2 separate regions of the Homo sapiens genome follow, and region 2 is linked to region 1. The links are contacts of gene promoters, found by promoter capture Hi-C in blood cells and fetal thymus (Javierre and others, 2016). All regions are on one chromosome and are shown on one strand. The core of a region is centred on a gene start or on the middle of the fragment in contact, and the rest is flanking DNA. Distances in the headings are between cores, read along the strand shown.

What was found. Contacts are between HindIII fragments. The CHiCAGO score rates a contact against its expected background, and 5 or more counts as called.
Region 2: a contact is called between a fragment that was not itself captured here and the fragment with the promoter of CIB3 in region 1, in 3 of 17 cell types (naive CD8 T cells, total CD8 T cells and total CD4 T cells). The highest score is 8.8, in naive CD8 T cells.

The regions. Positions count from the first base shown.
Region 1 is chr19:16,170,617-16,176,558 of GRCh38, forward strand. CIB3 (calcium and integrin binding family member 3) reads right to left here and starts at 2,909. Exons shown (of 6, transcript NM_054113.4): 1 at 2,809-2,909; 2 at 2,546-2,580. The coding sequence starts at 2,859. The HindIII fragment of the contact is 19,742 bases long and covers 1,039-5,942 here.
Region 2 is chr19:15,621,913-15,628,110 of GRCh38, forward strand. CYP4F8 (cytochrome P450 family 4 subfamily F member 8) reads left to right here. Exons shown (of 13, transcript NM_007253.4): 6 at 307-428; 7 at 1,193-1,463; 8 at 1,787-1,853; 9 at 2,053-2,182. Among named protein-coding and RNA genes, the nearest start is that of CYP4F8, 9.8 kb to the left of the region's middle. The HindIII fragment of the contact is 786 bases long and covers 1,625-2,410 here.

The DNA of each region.
Region 1 (5,942 bases), core at 1,659-4,158:
TCGAGACTAGCCTGGCCAACATGGTGAAACCCCATCTCTACTGAAAATACAAAAAATTAGCTGGGCGTGGTGACGGGCACCTGTAATCCCAACTACTCGGGAGGCCGAGGCAGGAGAATCACTTGAACCTGGGAGCTGGAGGTTGCAGTGAGCTGAGATCGTGTCACTGCACTCCAGCCTGGGCAACAAGAACGAGACTCTGTCTCAAAAAAAAAAAAGAAAAGAAAAAAGAAAGAAAGAGGCCGGGCGCGGTGGCTCACGCCTGTAATTCCAGCACTTTGAGAGGCCGAGGCAGGTGGATCACGAGGACAGGAGATCAAGACCATCCTGGCTAACATGGTGAAACCCCGTCTCCACTAAAAATATAAAAATTTAGCCAGGCGTGGTGGTGGGCGCCTGTAGTCCCAGCTACTCCGGAGGCTGAGGCAGGACAATGGTGTGAACCCGGGAGGCGCAGCATGCAGTGAACCGAGATCAAGCCAGTGCACTCCAGCCTGGGCAACAGAATGAGACTCGGTCTCAATAAAAAAAATAAATAAATAAAAAATAAAAAAGAAAGAAAGAAAAGAAGAAAGAAAGAAAAAAAAGGAGGGATTCCTCAATGGGGCAGAGCAGAGACAAACAGCTAATAGTCACATTTTTTCTAAAGGGCAGACAAAAGATATTTTGCAAATAACTGAATACCACACACACTATCCAGATTATAAGGCCAGTTCTCCACTCAGAAGCCCTCACCTGTGACACCATACCTTCATTAGGGCATGCTGAGCAGCAGCCTTGCAGAGACCATCCTTGGTGGGTCTGAGGTCCCCAAGCTGCTAGGGACTGTCTCTGAGAGAGACATGAGTCCCTAGGTCATATGATGACTAGGAACTCAATGAAGGTGGGGTGGGGAGACCTAGAACTTTCATCCTGACCACTCAGTTCCCTGTCGGGGTCCCATCAGGGAATACCCTGGGTTTAGGTTTCTGTGTGGCTCTGAGCATGTTCCTCTCCTCTCCCTCTCTGTGCCTTGGTTATTCTATCTGATAAGCAAGAAGCTTGGGACAGACAAAATGTCTGTCCTTGGGGCCTTGGGGCTCTGTGCATTTACCCTTCAGCCTGGGATCAGCCCCGCCCTGTCTGAGCCTCAGTTTCCCCATCAGTAATTTGATCGTGATGGCCGAGGTGACCCTGCAAGCTGTCCTCACCCAAACAATGGGGCTCACTAGTAAAAGGTGTGGCCATCAATAATGGATGTCCTGTTACTACACAACTGGGGCCTTGGCCCCGATCACACTGCAGCTGAACCCTGGCCAGCTTGGGTTTCATAGCTCCAAGTTCATGGGTCGGGGCCCCTGGGCAATGGCCCCACAGGCCGAGTGATGATGTGGGATACTCATCTGTGCCCATCGTGCTGGGTCACGCCAGGGACCTGCAGCAGCCTTGGGCCACCTCCTCACACCCTCATCTTAATGCCAAGCCCACAACCCAGACTGGGCTCTGGACTTTGCACCTGGGCTCCCAGCCTCAAGTCCCAGTCTCAGGAGAATCTTTATCTTTCATTTTGTTTTTCTGAGGCAGAGTCTAGCTCTGTCACCCAGGCTGGAGCACAGTGGCGTGATCTCGGCTCACTGCAACCTCCACCTCCCAGGTTCAAGCAATTCTCCTGCCTCAGCCTCTTGAGTAGCTGGGATTACAGGCACCCACCACCTCGCCCAGCTGATTTTTGTATTATTAGCAGAGATGGGGTTTCACCATGTTGGCCAGGCTGATCTTAAACTCCTGACCTCAGGTGATCCACCCACCTTGTCCTCCCAAAGTGCTGGGATTACAGGCATGAGCCACCGCGCCCAGCCTCAGGAGAATCTTTCTAACGTGCTGATGGTCTCTCCCCTGCTCATGCATGCTCCATAGCTCCCTGCCACCCTTGGGAGAAAGCCCAAGCTCATCAGCCTAGAGACTGGGACAGTATGACAAGATGTGACTTGTCAGCTTCTCCATCTCTGCCTCTGTCCACTGACCACACCTGCCCCCCTTCCCCATTTGAGTCCCAACAAATTGGAAATACCAGTTGGGCATGGTGGCTCACACCTGTAATCCCAGCACTTTGGGAGGCTGAGGCAGGGGGATCGCTTGAGCCCAAGGGTTTAAGACCAGCCTGGGCAACATAGTGAGAGCCCCATCTCTATAAAAAAATACAAAAATGAGGTACATGTGGTGGCTCGCACCAGTGGTCCTAGCTACTCGAGAGGCTGAGGTGGGAGGATCACCTGACCTTGGGAGATCGAGCCTGCAATGAGCCATGATTGCACCACTGCACTCCAGCCCAGGCAATAGAGACAGACCCTGTCTCAAAAAAAAAGAAAAGAAGGAAGGAAGGAAGGAAGGGAGGGAGGGAGGGAGAGAGAGAGAGAAAAGAGAAAGAAAGAAAGAAAGACTACTTACACACACACACACACACACACACACACACACACACACACACACCAAATTGCAAATATCCTCCAGCAATGAATAGAAAGTTGTTTTTCCAGATCTTCTCTCCCTTCCTCCCTGGACTGACCTCATGATCTCCTTCCTTGTGAAAAATGTGCAGTCCTGTGGAGAGAGGTGTTGTCTTAACCCGAACCCTGCCTCTGGGGCCTCCTCCCACGGCCTCCTCCCTCCACCCCACACTCACACAGATGGCCTGATGCTGCCACACACAGAGCAGAACCAGGAACCCAGGCGGACGGTACACCCAGATGAAGGCATTCTGTTCCCATTTCCCAGACCACGGAACCAAAGTTGTCAAACCCACTGAGGACCCATCCTGCCCCCCTCTACCTGATACGCTTCCAGCTGCTCGTGTGTGAAGACTGTCTGCTTGTTGCCCATGGTGTGAACCACAGCCCAGACTTGGGGATGCACCCCAAAGGCTCCCAGCTTCCTCGGGGCCACACGGGTTGCCAGGCTGTTGTGTACCAGTGTCTGGGCAAATCTCCCTGCCCTGGCTGTCACCCACCCACCTACGCCATCACCCCCTGCTTGATGAGACTCAAATTACAGCCAGGCTCTCTGGACAACAGCCTGAATGTGTCCATGGGTAAGGATAAGGGCTGTGGGATGTCACAGAGAAGACCTCAGTGGGGAGGCCACATCTGCCACCACAAGGTGAGGCTGGGGTTATGGGGCACACTCAAGAGACAGGCAGGGTATACAGAAGGGCTATGGGCACACTGCAGCTCAAATCCCAGCTCTCTGCCCACTAGCTGTGTGGCCCTGGGCAAGTCACCTGACTTCTCTGAACCTCATTCATGAGATGAAAATTACATTATACCTACCTCATAGGGTCATTCTCAGGATCTGAGATTTAAAAAAAAAAAAAAAAGGTTTTGACTGGGCAAGGTGGCTCACACCTGTAATCCCAGCACTTTGGGAGGGCCAGGCAGGCGGATCACCTGAGGTCAGGAGTTCAAGACCAGCCTGGCCAACACGGCAAAACCCCATCTCTACTAAAAATACAAAAATTAGCTTGGCATTGTGACACATGCCTGTAATCCCAGCTACTCCAGAGACTGAGGCAGGAGAATTGCTTGAACCCAGGAGGTGGAGGTTGCAGTGAGCCGAGATCCCGCCATTGCACTCCAGACTGGGTGACAGAGTAAGACTCCATCTCCAAAAAAAAAAAAAAGGTTTTGGCTGGGCGAGGTGGCTCATACCTGTAATCCCAGCACTTTAGGAGGACAAAGCATGAGATTCACTTGAGGCCAGGAGTTCAAGATCAGCTTGGGCAGCATGGCAAGGCCCTATCTCTACTAAAAATACAAAAATTAGCTGGATGTGGTGGTGCATGCCTGTGGTCCCAGCTACTCAGGAGGCTGAGGTGGGAGGATTGCTTGAGCCCAGGAGTTTGAGGCTGCAGTGAGCCATGATTGCATCACTGCATTGGGAACATAATGGTGAACAAGCTAGATGAAGTTCTGGGGTGTGCATTGACATTATTATTTTATTACATTTTATTTTTTTGAGACAGTCTCACTCTGTTGCCCAGGCTGGAGTGCAGTGGTGTGATCTCGGTTCACTGCAATCTCTGCCTCCCAGGTTCAAGTGATTCTCCTGCCTCAGCATCCCAGGTAGCTGGGACCACAGGTGTCCACCATGCCAAGCTAATTTTTTTTGTATTTTTTTTTTTTGAGACGGAGTCTCGCTCTGTCACCCAGTCTAGGGTGCAGTGGCGTGATCTCGGCTCACTGCAAGCTCCACCTCCCGAGTTCAGGCCATTCTCCTGCCTCAGCCTCCCGAGTAGCTGGGATTATTACAGGCGCCCACCACCACGCCTGGCTAAGTTTTGTATTTTTAGTAGAGACAGAGTTTCACTATGTTGGCCAGGCTGGTCTCGAACTCCTGACCTCAGGTGATCCACCCGCCTCGGCCTCCCAAAGTGCTGGAATTACATGTGTGAGCCACCTCGCCCGGCCCAAAGGGCAGATCTAATGTAGCAGCTACCAACTTTATTAAGGCCCAGAATCCTCTTGGGTGGAGAATCTGAGAGTCTAAATTTCTTAGCCTGGCCCTCCATGCCCTTCTCACTTTGGGTCTCACCTGTGTTTTCTCTACCTGGCCTGGACTATTGCAATGTTTCCCAGCAGGCTTTCCTGCCTCGGCCTCATCAAGCATCCTCTGCCAAATCTGTGCAGTCATCTTGTAAAATGTGACCCTGATCAGGCTTGAAAGATGCCTCAAGGATGACTTTTTTTTTTTTTTGAGACAGGGTCTCACTCTGTCACCCAGGCTGGAGAGCAGTGATACAATCATGGCTCACTGCAGCGACCCTCCTTCCTCAGCCTCCCAGGTAGCTGGCACTAGAGGCACATGCTGCCACATCCGGCTAATTTTTTTTTTTTTGTATTTTTTGTGGAGACAGGGTCTGTCTATGTTGCCCAGGCTGGTCTTGAACACCTGGCCTCAAGTGATCTACCCACCTTAGCCTCCCAAAGTGCTGGGATTACAGGCATGAACCACCATGCCCAGCCATCCAAGAATAACTTTCAAAAAATAAACAATATCAAGTGTTGGTGAGGGTATGGAGCAACTGGAATGCTCATACATTGCTGGTGTTGATGCAAAATGGTATAGACACTCTGGAAAATAGGTTGGCTGGGTTTTTTTTAAATAGAATTAAACTTAACCTTACCACAAGATTCAGGGCCTGGTATGGTGGCTCATGCCTGTAATCCCAGCACTTTGGGAGGCCAAGGCAAGAGGACCACTTTAGCCCAGGAGTTGGAGACCAGCCTAGGCAACATGGTGAAGCCCCATCTCTACAAAAATACAAAAATTAGCCAGGTTTGGTGGTATCCAGCTACTTGGGAGGTTTGCTTGAGGTAGGGAGGTCGAGGATGAAGTGAGCTATGATCACTCCACTGTACTGCACTCCAGCCTGGGAGACAGAGTGAGATCCTGTCTCAAAAAAAAAAAAAAAAAAAGACTCCTGGGTGTTTACCCAAGGGAAATAAAAACCTATGTTCAACTGAGAGTGACCCCTAATGTAAACTATCCACTAACCACTGTGGGTGATAATGATGTATCAGTGTCAGTTCATCAATTGTAACAGACTAGCTACTGTCATGCACTTGCATGTGGAGGATGTTGATTGTAGGGGAAGCTATACAAGTATGAAAGCAGCAGGTGTACGGGAAATCTCTGTACCTTCTGATCAATTTTGCTGTGAAACTAAGACTGCTCTAAAAAAATAAAGTATAGTGTAAAAAAAAAATTTAAACTAGGTTCACACAAAAACCTGTCATGCCCACAGAATGGGACAAATGCTCAGTGCTCAAGTCATTTATATAAAATGGCATAATATTTGCATATAGCCTGTGCACATCTTCCATACACTTTATTTATTTATTTATTTATTTTTATTTTACTTTTTCGAGTTGGAGTCTGGCTCTGTCACCCAGGCTGGAGTGCAGTGG
Region 2 (6,198 bases), core at 768-3,267, 550 kb before region 1:
ATCAAAGCAGGTCATCTTGATTGCTATTGAGGATTTGACAGGTGAGACCTAGAGGAGGGCTGTGAGTTGACCAAGGGTACACACAGCTTAGGAATCACAGCTGGGGCTTGAACCCAGCCATGGGATCTTCATCTCCTAATAGTAACAGCTTCCACTCTCACCCAAGCGTAGTCCTCCCTGAGGATGGGGGTCTGGGACAGAAAACCAGGAGCATGCCTCTGGGGGAGTCCATCCTGGTGGTTGGGGTTGCAGGGGGACTCAGAGGAGCCAAGGCCTGGCCCCAGCCCTGCTCCCTTCTCTGGCCAGGCCAAGTGGCAACGCCTGGCCATGGAGGGCAGCACCTGTCTGGATGTGTTTGAGCACATCAGCCTTATGACCCTGGACAGTCTGCAGAAATGCATCTTCAGCTTTGACAGCAATTGTCAGGAGTGAGTTCTTGCCCAGGGCCTGGGAACATGGGATGGAGTGGGGGTGTGGGTGTGGGGAGAGCAAAGCCCAGGGAGACAAGAAGAGCCTTCCTGGAGAGATGATGAGAACTAGGCATTGAAGGACAAAGAAGGAGAGAAGGAGAGAGAGAGAGAGCGAGAGAAAGAGAAGTTTCCTCCAAACAAGTGGAACTGTTTGGGTCAAGGCAAGGAGGCTAAGATGAACAGAGCATGTGCAACAGGCAGTTGGGAGACACTTGGAAATGAAGGTGGAGGGGTTGGCAGTTAACTAGATCTTAAGGATCTTGAAAAGTCAGACAAAGGGAGATGCATTTTATCCAAGGTTCCTAAGGAGCCATGGAGGTGTTTGAGCAGATGAGAGACATGGTCAGTACTGAGCTTGGACACTGGACTCTATGGGACTCTATGGAAGATTGACTGTCATGTAGACACAGCATGCAAGGATGCCAGGGAGAGGAGGTCTGAGTTTGGTGGAGAAAATGGGGCAGATTTGGGAGAAACTGAGTAATAATAGGCAGGAGCAGATGTTTTATAAGACAGAGAGAGGAGATGCCCATGATGGCCAAGCTGTGCCCTGGGGACCTGGGGCAGGAGGCAGCTCACAGAGAGTGGGAGGCAGAGAGTGAAGTGCGCTTGCAGGACACCCCTTTCTGCATGGAATGTGGTCCTGGGATTCTGGCTGGAAGGTGCTCCCAGGCTTTCATGTGGGTAAGGAGCTGCTTCCTCTCTCTGGACTGGCCCTGCAGGAAGCCCAGTGAATATATTACTGCGATCATGGAGCTCAGTGCCCTTGTAGTGAAACGGAATAACCAGTTCTTCCGGTACAAGGACTTCCTGTACTTCCTCACTCCCTGTGGACGGCGCTTCCACAGGGCCTGCAGACTGGTGCACGACTTCACAGATGCCGTCATCCAGGAGCGGCGCCGCACCCTCACTAGCCAGGGTGTTGATGACTTCCTCCAAGCCAAGGCCAAGTCCAAGACTTTGGACTTTATTGATGTGCTCCTGCTGAGCGAGGTGGGCCTCTCTGGGATCTGAATTCAAGAGGTAAAATGGAGCTTCAGGTCAAATGTCAGATTGAAGGACCGGACTTGATACAGAGGGCACTAAGGAGCCATGGAAGGTGCTCGAAGAAGGGAGGGACAAGTCAGATAAATTTTAGAGGTGATTGCATAGAAAGCTTCCTGGGAAGAACAAACAGGAGGTCGGAAGGAAGCATGTGGGGGTAGATCTGGAGGTGACAAGGGAGGGATCCTTCTGGGATAATGGGTCTTCAGAGACTGTTTCAGTTTAGACTCCAGTGACCCCAGAACTAGTGTGATTGGGGTTCTTGTCTCCAGGATAAAAATGGTAAAGAGTTGTCAGATGAGGACATAAGAGCAGAAGCTGACACTTTCATGTTTGGAGGTGAGTGTCCCAGTCTGGGGCTACAGTGGGGACAGGGGTCTCTCCACTCCAGGGAAGTGGAGGGCCGGCCCTGAATCACTTCATTCTGCCCAACCTCCCCCTCCCCTCAACCTTCCTGAGAGCCTCAATGTATGGGCGCTGTCCACCCTCTGGGTGCTGAAGCAGCCCAGAGACTCAAGCCTGCCTGGCTGACCCTCAGGCCATGACACCACGGCCAGTGGCCTCTCCTGGGTCTTGTACAACCTCGCGAGGCACCCAGAATACCAAGAACGCTGCCGGCAGGAGGTGCAAGAGCTTCTGAAGGACCGTGAGCCTAAAGAGATTGAATGGTGAGTGCAGGTGCTGGTGGCTCTGCCTTTCTGCCTTTCTGAGTCCTTCTCGTTGGTTCTTCTCCCCAGGTGGGGGAAAAGGGGAGGATCTTTTTGATGATTCTGCCATTGTTGCCTAGTGGGAATAGGAGTAGAGCCCAGAAACAGGCTAGCAAGGGTAACATTGCATGCTTTGGGGACAGAATGGTCTGGGAGTCCATATTTATTTCCCCACTAACTTGCTATGCAAGCTTAGTAAAATCAATTCCCTTTTCTGAACAACTTTTCTCCTTTGTAAATTGGGGGTGTGGGGAATTGCTGTCCCACAGGGCTGCTTGGAGAATTAACGGCAAATACCGCAATGACTTTTGGACCAATCTAATATTATGATTTATCAAAACATTCTCTTATCAACGCGTGTTTTTATACTTTCCAGCCTTTTGGTATAAAAGACATGATGTGTTGAATATCGGTGTACGATGATCATTGCTGACATGTCATCTTTGTAGAGCAGATTCCTAGAAGTGCAACTGCTGAGCCAAAGACCATTTGAGTTTTACAATTCAATAGCTCTTGGGAAATCTACTGCTATACACAGATTTTGAGAATACCAAATTTCCTCATAACCTCCCCAGAAGTGCCTATTATGAAACTAAAACATTTGCCAATCTGATAGATGCAATATAATATTTTGTTATTTTAATGAACATAACTTTAAATGTGGGTAAAGTTGAGCACTGTTTTCACCTGCCGATGAGCCATCCATATCTATTTTTCTGTGAAGTCAGTTTTTGCGTAATTTGTTTTTTCTACTTTGGGTCGTACTAGTTTTCTTATTTACTTATAAAAACTCTTTACATATTAAGAAAATTATTTCTTTTTTCTGTTATGCAAAATGTTGCCTCGCATTGTCTTGGACTTTATTTTTATTTTTGGTTCATTTATTTGTCACCAAATTTATTAATTTTTTCTTTTATAATTCCTGTTTGTGTTTCTTAAAAAAATATTTAAAAACCATTTTATACTCTAATAGTAAAATGCAAAACTCTTGTTTGACTTATTTTAATAGGCTTATATATTTTTAAAAGTTTAACATTTTATCAATATTTTTCACATTTAGAAATTTTTCCCTTTGAAATCTATGTTGGAATCTATTTTTTCTCCAAATGTCTAATTGTCCCAACCAAGTTTAATGAATATTTTGTCCTTGTGTCATGATTCTAAATAACAACAAATTCACAAGAAACTATGTGTGTGTATATATATATATATAGTGTATATATATAGTGTATATATATATAGTGTTTGTGTATATATATATACACACACACATACTATATATAGTGTATACACTATATATATATGTATTTTAAGGCAACAAATAAAACCATATATATATATGCCTATCTTAGGCATGTATGTATATATATGGTTTTATTTGTTGCCTTCATTTTGTTCCATTTATTATGTAGTCCTACATGAGCAGCATGAAGTCTACTTTTAAAAACACTTTAATATTTGGTAGAGTTTGTTCTGTCTCATTACTTTGTGTTTACAGTTTTTTTTCCCTCGAGTTCCTATTTTTTTCCATTTGAACTCTGTGATCAGGTTAGCCAGTTTGACAAATACTTTTGAAAATGTTAATTAATAAATTTTTTGGACCTTAGGTGCTAATGTTTGAGTTAACGATGCTCTTCAATTCATGGCAAATTCTCGTCATTTTTCTATACAATACGTATTTCTTCCCATTTATCTCAAATCTCTCCTTCCAGCTCTCCATCAGTATGATTACAAAATGGTGGATACTTTTATCTGTAAAACTTGTTGTTGGGGTGGATACATTTTAAAATTCTATATATGTTTTTATTTCACAGATGTTGTGCTGGTTCTTACCTTTTCAGAAATATAGCACTATGATTTGTGCTACGTTTGCAGCACCGTGGTTGCATGCTATGATTTGTGCTATATAAATGTAGCACTATGATTTGCAGCACCGTGGTTCTAAGTACATTTATTCTCTTGCTTTTAGCTATGATCTAGTCCTTTTCTCTTCAGTTCTGTAGTGGATACCTGGACTGCTTCTATCTCTCCAGTGCAATGACCATCTTTGTGCATATCTCTTTATCTGCATGTCTGATAATTTCTCTGGGATCTACAGTTGGGAACCAGCTTGCTGGGCTGTAAAACACACATCTTTCCTTGGCCATGTCCTGGAGGTTGCCTTCCATATTGGCAGCTTCTGTGCACCCCACTGTCAGTGCATGTGACCCCTCTACCCACACCTCAGCCAACCCTTGGCAACACCTACCTTTGGCCATTCTAGCCTCGAATAGATGTGAAGTGGTACCTCGTTGTCAGCTAGCTTCCATTTCTATGACAGCTAGTGACTTTGCGCATCTCCTCTTACATTTCTCATGTTTGAGCATCCATGAATTCTTAGATCAAATCCTTTGTCTACTTTTCACTTGGGTTACCTGTTCGTTCTCTTGTAGATTTGCAGGAATTCCTAACATATTCAGATATTGTTCTGGATATCTATCTATCTATCTATCTATCTATCTATCTATCTATCTTAGGCATCTTCTCTGAATCTCTTATCTCTCATTGGAATGTTAATTGGGTCCACTGTATCTTTTACTGCACAGAAATCCTTAATTTGCATGCGTATTTATCCTTTATATTTTATCTTGTTTAAGCTTTTGGGGTTTTAAGAATTCCTACTCTTAAGTCACAAAAATTTCTCCTATGTTATCATCTTTTAACATTATAATTTTACCTTTCTCATAAAGGAAAAGACTCCACCTTGTATATGCAGTAGACAAGAACCTGTTTCTCTCTGTTCCCACATTTCCAGTGGTCTGAACAACTTCCACCACACTATCCATTCTCCAGGGGCGTGTGGACCTTCCTTTAGCAGATGTTAAGTTTCCCCCTATTCACAGGCCTGATTCTGAGCTCTCTACTCTGTTCTATGGATCTGTTTTTCTGTTCTTGCAGCAGTCCCACAGTTTTTTTAAAATTATTTTATTTTTATTAGTATGCATTTGTAATATCTCTTAATATCTGGAAGCTTGGGTTCTCCTTCTTCAATCTTTTATTTAAAAATTGACCTAGCTTGGATAGGGCATGGTGGCTTATGCCTGTAATCCCAGCACTTTGGGAGGCTGAGGCAGGCAGATCACTTGAGGTCAGGAGTTTGAGACCAGCCTGGCCAACATGGTGAAACCCCATCTATACTAAAAATACAAAAATTAGTTGGGTGTGGTGGTGCACACCTGTAATCCCAGCTACTTGGGAGGCTGAGGCACAAGAATCGCTTGAACGCAGGAAGTGGAGGTTGCAGTGAGCTGAGATCAGGCCACTGCACTCCAGCCTGGGTGACAGAGTGAGAATCCATCTCAAAAAAAAAAAAAAAATTGACCTAGCCCTTGATGAACTTTAAAATTCCTTCAATTAGAATAAGATTTCAAAGTTCCAAAAAGAATCCAGCTAGATTTTTATTAATTGCATGAAGTATATTGATTAGTTTAGAAATAATTGACACCTTTACAACATATGGTCATCCCACCCTACAGTGTGGAGTGGAGATTATTTATTCAAATAACTTTATAAGCCCTTTGTAGAGATGTTTTTTTCCTGCTTTTGTTACCTCTTTATATAATTTTAAATACTTTTTCACACAAACAAATGAACACTTTTGTTTTTGAGATGGAGTTGCTCTGCCTCCCAAACTGGAGTGCGGTGGAGTGATCTCGGCTCACTGCAACCTCTGCCTCTCAGGTTCGAGGGATTCTCCTGCCTCAGCCTCCTGAGTAGCTGGGACTACAGGTGCCCACCACCATGCGTGGCTAATTTTTGTGTTTTTAGTAGAGATGGGATTTCACCATGTTGGTCAGGCTGGTGTGGAACTCCTGACCTCAAGTGATCCTCCTGCCTCAGGCTTCCAAAGTGCTGGGATTACAGGAGTGAGCCACTGCACCCCGCCGGAATGAATACTTTTAAGAGACACCCTCTGAATATTGTTTTGCTCAGAAATA